Linked DNA regions of Homo sapiens: all the other regions are linked to region 4. Evidence: promoter capture Hi-C in human tissues and cell types (Jung and others, 2019). All regions are on one chromosome and are shown on one strand. Each heading gives the region's core, a stretch centred on a gene start or on the middle of the fragment in contact. The rest is flanking DNA. Distances are from core to core; before and after follow the strand shown.

Region 1 (2,748 bases), core at 243-2,742, 61 kb after region 4:
CTGTAAGCCAGCTGAATATTCTTCAGAAGTTTTCAAGGTATCTGATTGAGTTTATCAGCTTTTTTTTCCTAGCTGCTTTGCTGTCTCTCTGAATAAGCGCTTACAGAGTTCTTTCATAATTGTGCCAAGTATGAAATGATAATGAACCACTCCTAATCAGAAAGTAGCTTCACAGACCAGGCAGAGGCCAGCACTGGTTTACTGAGTAATGAAGGACCAACAGCTCCCCTTAGCGACATAATGGGGGTAGTACCTGCTCACACTAGCTAACAGGAACCCTGTGAAGGGAGCACAAATTCAGATTTAAACCTCATTTTATTGCAGATTTTTACAGGCAGAATAAAAAACTGTAGGTGAAAATATTAATTATCAATTAGGAAGAAGTTACATAACATATTGGTTATTCTTTTTGTAACTGAAAGACTTTATACTATCATGCATACATTTAAATAATGAAATCTGAATAAACACAGATAAAAGTGAATCTAATTATCTTAAAACACTCACTCAACATCAAAATATAATCTCCAGGGTTTATTAAAAGAATAGCTTATTTTGCTAGACTACTGGTAAGAACAAAATATTATTGTGTCCGGAATTGGTGGGTTCTTGATCTCACTGACTTCAAGAATGAAGCTGCGGACCCTCGCGGTGAGTGTTACAGCTCTTAAGGTGGCGCGTCTGGAGTTTGTTCCTTCTGATGTTCGGAGTTTCTTCCTTCTGGTGGGTTTGTGGTCTCGCTGGCTCAGGAGTGAAGCTGCAGACCTTGGTAGTGAGTGTTACAGCTCTTAAGGCGGCGCATCTGGAGTTGTTCGTTCTTCCCGGTGGGCTCTGGGCTCGTGGTCTCGCTGGCTTCAGGAGTGAAGCTGCAGACCTTTGTGGTGAGTGTTACAGCTCATAAAGGCAGTGTGGACCCAAAGAGTGAGCAGTAGCAAGATTTATTGCAAAGAGTGAAAGAACAAAGCTTCCACAGTGTGGAAGAGGACCCGAGTGGGTTGCCACTGTTGGCTCGGGCAGCCTGCTTTTATTCTCTTATCTGGCCCCACCCACATCCTGCTGATTGGTAGAGCCCAGTGGTCTGTTTTGACAGGGTGCTGATTGGTGCATTTACAATCCCTGAGCTAGATACAAAGGTTCTCCACCTCCCCATCAGATTAGTTAGATACAGAGTATCCACACGAAGGTTCTCCAAGGCCCCACCAGAGCAGCTAGATACAGAGTGTCAATTGGTGCACTCACAAACCTTGAGCTAAACACAGGGTGCTGATTGGTGTGTTTACAAACCTTGAGCTAGATACAGAGTGCCGATTGGTGTATTTACAATCCCTGAGCTAGACATAAAGGTTCTCCAAGGGCCCACCAGAGCAGCTAGATACAGAGTGTCGATTGGTGCACTCACAAACCCTGAGCTAGACATGGGGTGCTGATTGGTGTGTTTACAATCCCTGAGCTAGACATAAAGACTCTCCACGTCCCCACCAGACTCAGGAGCCCAGCTGACTTCAACCAGTGGATCCCCCACCGGGGCCACAGGTGGAGCTGCCTGCCAGTCCTGTGCCATGCACTCGCACTCCTCAGCCCTTGGGCAGTCGATGGGACTGGGCACCGTGGAGCAGGGGGAGGCGCTCGTCGGGGAGGCTCGGGCCGCACAGGAGCCCATGGAGTGGGTGGGAGGCTCAGGCATGGCGGGCTGCAGGTCCGAGCCCTGCCCCGCGGGAAGGCAGCTAAGGCCCAGTGAGAAATCAAGCGCAGTGCCAGTGGGCCGGCACTGCTGGGGGACCCAGTGCACCCTCCGCAGCCACTGGCCCGGGTGCTAAGTCCCTCATTGCCCGGGGCCAGCAGGGCCGGCTGGCTGCTCCGAGTGTGGGGCCCGCCAAGCCCACGCCCACCCGGAACTCCAGCTGGCCCGCGAGCGCCGCACGCCGCCCTGGTTCCCCCTCGCGCCTTTCCCGCCACACCTCCCTGCAAGCTGAGGGAGCCGGCTCTGGCCTTGGCCAGCCCAGAAAGGGGCTCCCACAGTGCAACGGTGGGCTGAAGGGTTCCTCAAGTGCCGCCAAAGTGGGAGCCCAGGCAGAGGAGGTGCCGAGAGCAAGCGAAGGCTCTGAGGACTGCCAGCACTCTGTCACCTCTCATTATAACTTAATTTTCATGAGAAATTAATAAATATGGCTCAATAACTGCCATTAATACGTTTGGGGAAAATGATGAAATGCCAAGAAAAGAAAAACGTATCCAATTTTTCTTTTCAAAACTTTCTCTGAGTCTGAACCAGGCTTAGAAGACATTTGTGACATCAATTACTGCCTTTCCTAGTTGCCTCACTCATCTAAATGGAAAATTATTCTGCATAATTCTGAGTTAATATGAGACAAGAGAAAAAATATACCCAGAAGACTTTGAAAGTTAAACTGAAAGAGACCCAAAGGCCAAATTACTCAGAGACACAAGTTGTATGGAGAAATCAAGTCAATAAAGATTTGATGGCCTGGCACAGTGGCTCACGCCTTTAGTCTTAGCACTTCAGGAGGCTGAGGTGGGCGGATCACAAGGTCAAGAGATCGAGACCATCCTGGCCAACATGGTGAAACCCTGTCTCTACTAAAAATGCAAAAATTAGCTGGGCGTGGTGGCGCATGCCTGTGGTCCCAGCTACTCGAGAGGCTGAGGCAGGAGAATCACTTTAACCCGGGAGGCAGAGGTTGCAGTGAGCTGAGATCGCACCACTGTATTCCAGCCTGGTGACAGAGT
Region 2 (2,700 bases), core at 146-2,645, 53 kb before region 4:
GCTACAACATAGATAAGCCTTGAGGACATTATGTACGCTAAGTGAAATAAGCCAGACAAAAGGACAAATAGAATATGATTCCACTTATGTAAGCTTGATTACCCAGAGTAATCAAATTCATAGACAAAAGCTGAATGGAGGCTACCCAGGGCTGGGGGAAGAGAGGAACGTGGAGTTGGTGTTTAAGGGGTACAGAGTTTCTGTTTGGGAAGATGAAAAAGTTCTGGGGATGGATGGTGGTGACGGTTGCACAATATACTTAATGCCACTGTACTGTACACTTAAAAATGGTTAAAATGGCTCCCACTGCAGCCTCAAGTGCCCCTGTCCCACCTGGCTCCCCCTGCTGATGTCTAGTGTTTTTTTCTCTCCTGTCTTTGTATTGAAGGCAGGAAACAAGGGTGTCAAGCCCCCATTCCCTCCCTACTCTGACAGCAGGATTGGATGTTGTGTATTGTGGATTTTTTTTTGTTTATTTTGTTCTGAAATTAAAGTATGCAAAATAGAGAATATGCCATTTTTAATACAAAAAAAGGTTACAATGGTAAATTTTATGATATGCATATTTTATAATAACACCCCCTCCAAAAAAAAAGAGATGAAAAGTGAATGGTATGAAGATTCAACCTTGTGAAAGACTGAGCTGTCTAAGTTGAAAATGAGTAGGAATGTAGTATTTCTAGGCAGGGGCCAACTCCATAGAAACCAATTAAGTCAGTGGAGGTCAAGCAAACAGCTCCGAGGGGATGTTTGAAATCTTATCTTTCTCATGACCTGATTTCGGTCACATTCTTACTGAGCTCTGGCAAGGCATGATGATACTTCACAAAATACAAAACCAGAGCCCCAAACTCAGGACTTTACAGTGAAAGACCCATTGTTCACACAATGCTTTCTCCTTGGTGGCATTTCCTGAACAGCAAGTTCGGGCAGCCCCATTTCTTGCCTGGCTCAGTCTATAAGACTGATACAAGACTGGTATAAAGTTGTAAATGATTCTAAATATTGTTCATCCCACTAGAGACCTACTAAGTGGTTATTTAACTGACATTTTTTTGTGCTTCCTTCATATGAAGAACACAGATAAATATCTTCTGATTACATACCATTAAATAGTAGGAAAAGCAAAAATTCTTAAATTATATGATTGACAATTCTCATGATCGTCTTGTAAATACTACGGAGGAAAAGGTCTTAGAAACTGTTGAACTGCACTGGATCAGTCACTTGCTCTTAAAAGGGTGATTAAGAATAGCCAAGGCCGGGCGCAGTGGCTCACGCCTGTAATCCCAGCACTTTGGGAGGGGGGCAGGTGGATCACAAGGTCAGGAGATCAAGACCATCCTGGCTAACAGGGTGAATCCTCGTCTCTACTAAAAATACAAAAAATTAGCCAGGCATAGTGGCACGTGCCTGTAGTCCCAGCTACTCAGGAGGCTGAGGCAGGAGAATCACTTGAACTCGAGAGGCGGAGGTTGCAGTGAGCTGAGATTGCGCCACTGCACTCCAGCCTGGGTGACAGAGTGAGACTCTATCTCAAAAAAAAAAAAAAAAAAAAACAACGACTAGCCAAAATTTGATCCAAAAACTATTGTACAGAGGGGTGTGGGGGAATTCTCTGTACTTTACATTCAATTTTTCTGTAAACCTAAAACTTCTCTAAAAAATAGTCTATTATTTTTTAAAACAAGAAAACAATTACACATATTCTAGTAATTCTCAACTGATAAGAAAGCTTATGTTGGCCAGGTATGGTGGCTCACACCTGTAATCCCAGCACTTTGGGAGGCCAAGGTAGGTGAATCACTTATCACTTGAGGCCAGGAGTTCGAGACCAGCCTGGGCAGCATGGCAAAACCTCATCTCTACTAAAAATTCAAAAATTAGCCAGGTGTGGTGGCACGCACCTGTAGTCCCAGCTACTCGGGATGCCGAAGCACAAGAATGGCTGGAACGGAGGAGGCAGAGATTGCAGTGAGCTGAGATCGCACCGTTGCACTCCAGCTTGGGTGACAGAGTGAGACTCTGTCTCAAAAATCAGCCCAGTTGGCTGAACAGAAGCGAATAAGTATAATAGTTTTAAAGCTTTACCAAATTTCCCGGGCTATCTCAGTTTGTACAGCTATGCCATCCAGCTAATTATTTGCAGGTTTAAATTTGACCTCACAGTTTTCCTAGCTTCATTTCCGAAACAGTCAGGCCAGAGCGAGTCAGTGCTTTCTAAGTGCCTGCATACAAATTGCAAAGAGACCACAGGTCTGAGGAGGTGCACGGCATCAACAGGCAGCTGTCCCAGTCACTAAGAAGTCTCTACCTTCAGTGCACTTTGGCAGCCTGGTCATCTCACCAAAACCAATGCTTTCAGAGTCAGAATTCCACAATCACCCATATTCCCCTGGAAAAAGGTAGTGATAGGTGAGTAATATATTTTTAATTTCCTATAGCCTAGAGAACTTTAAAACTACATTGAATGTTTTCCATGATTTAGGCTTAAAACGACAAATCCAGAGGATGTATTCTCTACATCCCAGTGCATATTCGTGAATGACGTGGATACAAATCGACACATTTTTCAGATTTTTCATGTAAGCATAAGATGAAATAATGAACAGGAAAGCACTTTATAAAATGCACAATACAGAGGTAAGGTATCAGATTTTTAATCAATATTCCAATGTTCCATAGTTATTCTTGTGACAA
Region 3 (2,700 bases), core at 116-2,615, 42 kb after region 4:
ATGCCTGTCTAGAAAAGTTGTTATCATTAAGTATGATATCCATAAGTATTATATATATATAATAGATAATCAGGAAGTTATGTTTGTTATTATCTCTATGTTACTTTCTCTATGTCTGTACCTGTATTTGTGTCTATGTCTATATCTATATGTTATAGCTTTATCTACATGAATCTATATATGGAGTAAACTTATTTATGTTAAGAGCTTTATTGAGATATAATTTATATACAATTAAATCCATTTATTTTTTAAGAGTACAACTCAATGACTTTTAATAGTAAATTTACTAGTTATGCAACCATTGTTACAATAATGTTAAAACATTTTTATCACCCCCCCAGAAAAAACCTCATGGACATTTGCACTCACTAGAGTAAACTCTTTACCAAGACATTTACACTCATGAAAAGTTTTGTTAGAATTTTGTATGAAAAAAAATTTTTTTTCTTTTTATTTTTTTGAGAGGGAGTCTCACTCTGTCACCAGGCTGGAGTGCAGTGGCACAATCTCAGCTCACTGCAACCTCTGCCTCCCAGGTTCAAGCAATTCTCCTGCCTCAGCCTCCTGAGTAGCTGGGACCACAGGCACACGCCACTATGCCCAGGTAATTTTTGTATTTTTAGTACAGATGGGGTTTCACCATGTTGGCCAGGATGGTCTCGATCTCTTGACCTCATGATCCGCCTGCTTCAGCCTCCCAAAGTGCTGGGATTACAGGTGTGAGCCACTACACCCAGCAAAAAAAATTTTAAAGTGATTAGTTTATATATATATATATATATATATATATATATATATATATATATATATTTAAATTATACTTTAAGTTCTAGGGTACATGTGCACAACGTGCAGGTTTGTTACATGTGTATACATGTGCCATGTTGGTGTGCTGCACCCATTAACTCGTCATTTACATTAGGTATCTCTCCTAATGCTATCCCTCCCCCCTCCCCCCTTTATTTGTGAGATGTGAGATGATGAACTTAATACAAATTCAAAAGGAAAAAAGGAGTATACAAGTGATGTCTCCCTCAGGGTTTCTCTCAGTTAACATTAGTTGCCTCTAAAAAGAACTGCTTGAAATCCCAGAGAGGTAGACAGAGATTTTAAACTCAAGGATGTATGCTGATTTTATCAAATTCTTTTTCGTCATCTAGAAGTGTGCTGTTCAATAAGGTAACCATTACCTCCTGTGGCTGGCTCACAAACACTTGAAATTTGGCTAGTGTGATTGAGGAACTGAATTTTTAATTTAATTTTAATTAAACTAAATTTTAAGACTGATAATTCAGTTACTGAAAAACTCAAGTATGTTTGCAACTTGGATATATACACCTACTTTTTTGTATCATAAACTTCACTAAATCTTAATGCAGATCAAGCTTTTCCAATGAAAATTTTGTGTCTGAATTGCGGTGAGCTAGGACAGTACATTTTAGATATATTGGGTTAAATAAAATATCATTAAAATTTGTTTTATCTGTTGCTTTTTACTTATTTGAAATGTGGCTTCTAGAATATCTAAAATTACCCACGTGGTTCACTTTATCTTCCTATTGGACATGCTGCTCTAGAGAGATATCATATGCTTTTTCTCATTTTATCTATTATTATGGTGAAATATATTAGTGTATTTTCTAATAATTTTTCTCTTTTTGCATTTCTGGCATAACCACCACTTGGTCATGGCATTCTGAATTATTTACCATAATTCTTTATTCTTTATTTAGCTCCTTTGGCCTTAATATTCATATGTAAGATTGGTCTTTAGTTTTATTGGGCTATCATCACACATCTGGAAGCTGTTCCTGTCTAGTCTTGACATTATTTAAATAACATAGAAGATATTGTTCTTTGGGCCCGGCGTGGTGGCCCATGCACTTTGGGAGGCTGAGGCGGGTGGATCACTTGAGGTCAGGAGTTCGAGACTAGCCTGGCCAACACGGTGAAACCCTATTTCTACTCAAAATACAAAAAATTAGCCGGGTGTGGTGGCTCATGCCTGTAATCCCAGCTACTCAGGAGGCTGAGACAGGAGAATCACTTGAACCTGGAAGGCAGAGGTTGTAGTGAGCCAAGATCGTGCCATTGCACTCCAGCCTGGACAACAGAGTGAGACTTCATCTCAAAAAAAAAAAAAAAAAAAAAGGCCGGGGGCAGTGGCTCACGCCTGTAAACCCAGCATTTTGGGAGGCCGAGGTGGGCGTCACGAGGTCAGGAGATCAAAACCATCCTGGCTAACACGGTGAAACCCCGTCTCTACTAAAAAATACAAAAAAATTTAGCCGGGTGTGATGGTGGGTGCCTGTAGTCCCAGCTACTCAGGAGGCTGAGGCAGGAGAATGTTGTGAACCCGGGAGGCGGAGCTTGCAGTGAGCGGAGATCGCACCACTGCACTCCAGCCTGGGCGACAGAGTGAGACTCCGTCTCAAAAAAAAAAAAAAAAAAAATGGGACCTTAGAGAGATGATTAGGTGATAAGGGCTCTGCTCTCACGAAGGAATTAATGTCATTATCTCAGGAATGGGATTTTCATAAGTTAGGGAGTTCTGCCCACTTTTTCTCCCTCTCTCTCAGTGTCTCTCACCACATGATGCCCTTCTGCCATCTTAGGATGCAGCAAGAAGGCCCTTGCCAGATGCAGCTTTCAGTCTTGGACGTCCCAGCTTCTGTGAGCCAAACAGATCTCTTTTTA
Region 4 (2,700 bases), core at 2-2,501:
ACACACGTTTCCCACGAGGGCACTGCAAATTCCGCCCACTACTTTTGACTCGAATTTTTTTTTAATGAAGTTTATATTCGTGGGAATACGCCCATTGTCATGTGCTGCATACATTAAGATGTTTTCAACAAATATTTGTGACTGCCTAGCCAACACGAAGCCACGCTGCGAAGACAGCTCTAGGGGTGGCGTGGGTGACTAGGGTTGTCCCCCAAAAGGGAAAAGAATTCTTTCTTTCTTTTTCTTTCTTTCTCTCTCTTTCTTTTCTCTTTCTCTCTCTCTTTCTTTCTTCTCTCTCTCTCTCTTTCCGCCCGCCCGCAAAAACAGAAAATGAAAATTCGCTCTGAGTTTCTCTTCTCAATCCTTGCAACGCGCATGCAAGGTGCTCCCTTCTCCGCTGGTCCCTCGCCCCGGCGCGCCCACGGTCAATCCCGCGCAGTGAATGAGCGGGTTTGGCCACTTCGCCTATTGCACAAAAAGCGCGGGTCGGGAAGGCGCATCAGTGCCCTGGACGCCGCCTGCGGGTCCCCCTGCCCGGGACGGCTGGCTAGGGGCGCCCTTCTCGCCGCGTCTCTCCCCACTAGCCCGCTTGGCTGCCAGGGGCCCCGAGGAATCCGCCCTTTCCCGGCCGCCGCGACCCAGCTTGCGCAGCCGGACAATGAGGGCGACTCGGGAGAGCTCTTTCTCCATTCATCCCCCGCGCCCGGCCAACAGCCCCGCCACCCCCGCCCGCGCAGCCGGGGCACTAAAAGCAACCCCCGGCGCCCCGCTCCGGGCGCCCCGCTCCCGCCACCCCCAGCACTGCTCGCGTAGATGGCGCTCCTGGGTCGCGAAGTCCCGCAAAAGCCAGAGGCGAGGCTGGGCTTTAACCCCAAAGCCCGAGGAGGTTAAAGCCTAAGCCTGCAAAGAGCGGGCAGCGTCCGGCAGGAGCGGCGTCCCCATCCAGCCCTCCCCGGCAAGCGCGGGAGACCCACGTGGCCGAGACACCCACTCCGAGGTGGATCAGGATGCGCGCCCGGACTCCAGCAGCCCCAACGCGACGGGCTTTGTCCGCGGCCGCCCCCGCCCGCCCGCCTGCGGGGGACAGGGACCCTAGGACCCGGGCCGGGCTCACCTCTCTGCCGGCACTGCGCGGCGACACACAGCAGCAAGACCAGGAGCACGCCCCCGCGCATCTCGCCTCCGCCGCCACTCGGTGGGTCTGGGGAGAAAGCCGCGCGCCCGCCTGGAACGCTCCACGGGACGCGAGTCCGCGCTGCCCTGGCCCCGCCGCTCCTGGAGTCCTGCCGCCCCTCCCTCCAGCCGCCCTCGGACACACCCCTCGGCTGCGCCCCGCCCCGCCCCGTCCCGCCCCGGCTTGGCCCCGCCACCCAGACCCCTCCCCCGGGGGCGCCCAGCTTGGCCTCTGGGTCCCGGCGCACGCGGACCCCAAGTCGGGGAGGCCGGGCTGACCGCGGCCGCCTCCCCGGCTCCGGGTAGGAGGTGGGCAGAGAAGGTGGGCTGAGGGGAGGAGAAACTGGGCTGCGGGGGTCCGGGAGGGTGGATTCCGAGAAACTATGTGCCCAGCTGACCCTGCCCGCCCCGCCGCGGCCCTGCAGTCCCCGGGCCAGGACCCACGCGCCCCTGCCAGGAGCTGGGCGAGAGGCGACCCCTCGGGAAGCCACCCAGGCTCGGCCGACCCGCCGCCCTTTCCGCCGTGGGCAGAGGACTTGAGGATTTTTTCTGAAAATGAGTTGCAACTTGTTCCCGACTTTGTTTGCCTAAAGAAGGCAAGGTCACTTGGACTTAATTATTATAATTAGATACCCTTACTGCTGGAGAGAGAGGACGCGCTCCTGACACGCAACTTCAACTGCTGTTATTATAATTATTATTATTTTAAAACTATGTCTGGTCCCCGATAAAGAATTTTTAATTTCCTCTGATTTTTTTTTTCTATCAAAAGTATTGGATGGGTGCAGTGGCTCACGCCTGTAATTCCAGCACTTTGGGAGGCCGAGGCGGGTGGATCACTTGAGGTCAGGAGTTCGAAACCAGCCTGGCCATCATGGTGAAACCTCGTCTCTACTAAAAACATACAAAAATTAGCTGGGTGTGGTGGCACGCGCTTGCAGTCCCAGCTACTTGGGAGGCTGAGGCAGGAGAATTGCTTGAACCCGGGAGTGGGAGGTTGCAGTGAGCTGAGATCACACCAGCTGCACTCCAGCCTGGGCGACAGAGCGAGACTCTGTCTCAAAAAAGAAAAAAAAGGTATTCATAACACTTTGTAGATTTCACATTTTCTCAATATAAATATACAGGGACAATATCTCATTATCATCCCACCATCTTATTTTGCAGGGTTTTTTTTTCTTGATAGGAAGATAATTTCCTCTCACTTGTGTGAATCTATTTGACAACTCTATCAATTCCTGTTTTTCTGAGGACACTTCCTTACACATCTAGTGAGTAGAACTTAGTTATAGTACTTAGCCATCGATTAATTTTTAAAAATCATGGAACAAAATGATAGTTTGGCCGTTTTAAAAGGATGCAATATAGTTCAGTGAATACTCCATACAGTACTAAATTTAAAATGCAGACGTTCGTAACTATTAAAATGTTACTAAGTAATTATTAAATAAGTAAACTTAGTATTTAATAAATGATCAAATATTATAGTATTAGGCACATAGCTATTAAAATGCAGAATTATAAGCA

The links. The method cuts DNA at HindIII sites, captures the fragments that hold promoters and counts their contacts. A contact is called where the count stands out against the background at its distance.
Region 1: a fragment that was not itself captured here is called in contact with the fragment with the promoter of LAMA1 in region 4 in 1 of the 25 tissues and cell types used here (aorta).
Region 2: a contact is called between a fragment that was not itself captured here and the fragment with the promoter of LAMA1 in region 4, in 4 of the 25 tissues and cell types used here (H1 embryonic stem cells, bladder, ovary and 1 more).
Region 3: a fragment that was not itself captured here is called in contact with the fragment with the promoter of LAMA1 in region 4 in 1 of the 25 tissues and cell types used here (IMR-90 fibroblasts).

Annotation. Positions count from the first base shown.
Region 1 is chr18:7,177,099-7,179,846 of GRCh38, forward strand. No RefSeq gene overlaps it. Among named protein-coding and RNA genes, the nearest start is that of LRRC30, 53 kb to the right of the region's middle. The HindIII fragment of the contact is 9,943 bases long and covers 1-2,748 here.
Region 2 is chr18:7,063,695-7,066,394 of GRCh38, forward strand. The region is part of intron 3 of LAMA1 (laminin subunit alpha 1); the gene reads right to left. Among named protein-coding and RNA genes, the nearest start is that of LAMA1, 53 kb to the right of the region's middle. The HindIII fragment of the contact is 4,804 bases long and covers 1-2,700 here.
Region 3 is chr18:7,158,758-7,161,457 of GRCh38, forward strand. No RefSeq gene overlaps it. Among named protein-coding and RNA genes, the nearest start is that of LAMA1, 42 kb to the left of the region's middle. The HindIII fragment of the contact is 5,564 bases long and covers 1-2,700 here.
Region 4 is chr18:7,116,546-7,119,245 of GRCh38, forward strand. It overlaps LAMA1 (laminin subunit alpha 1), which reads right to left and starts at 1,252. Exons shown (of 63, transcript NM_005559.4): 1 at 1,115-1,252. The coding sequence starts at 1,175. The HindIII fragment of the contact is 17,081 bases long and covers 1-2,700 here.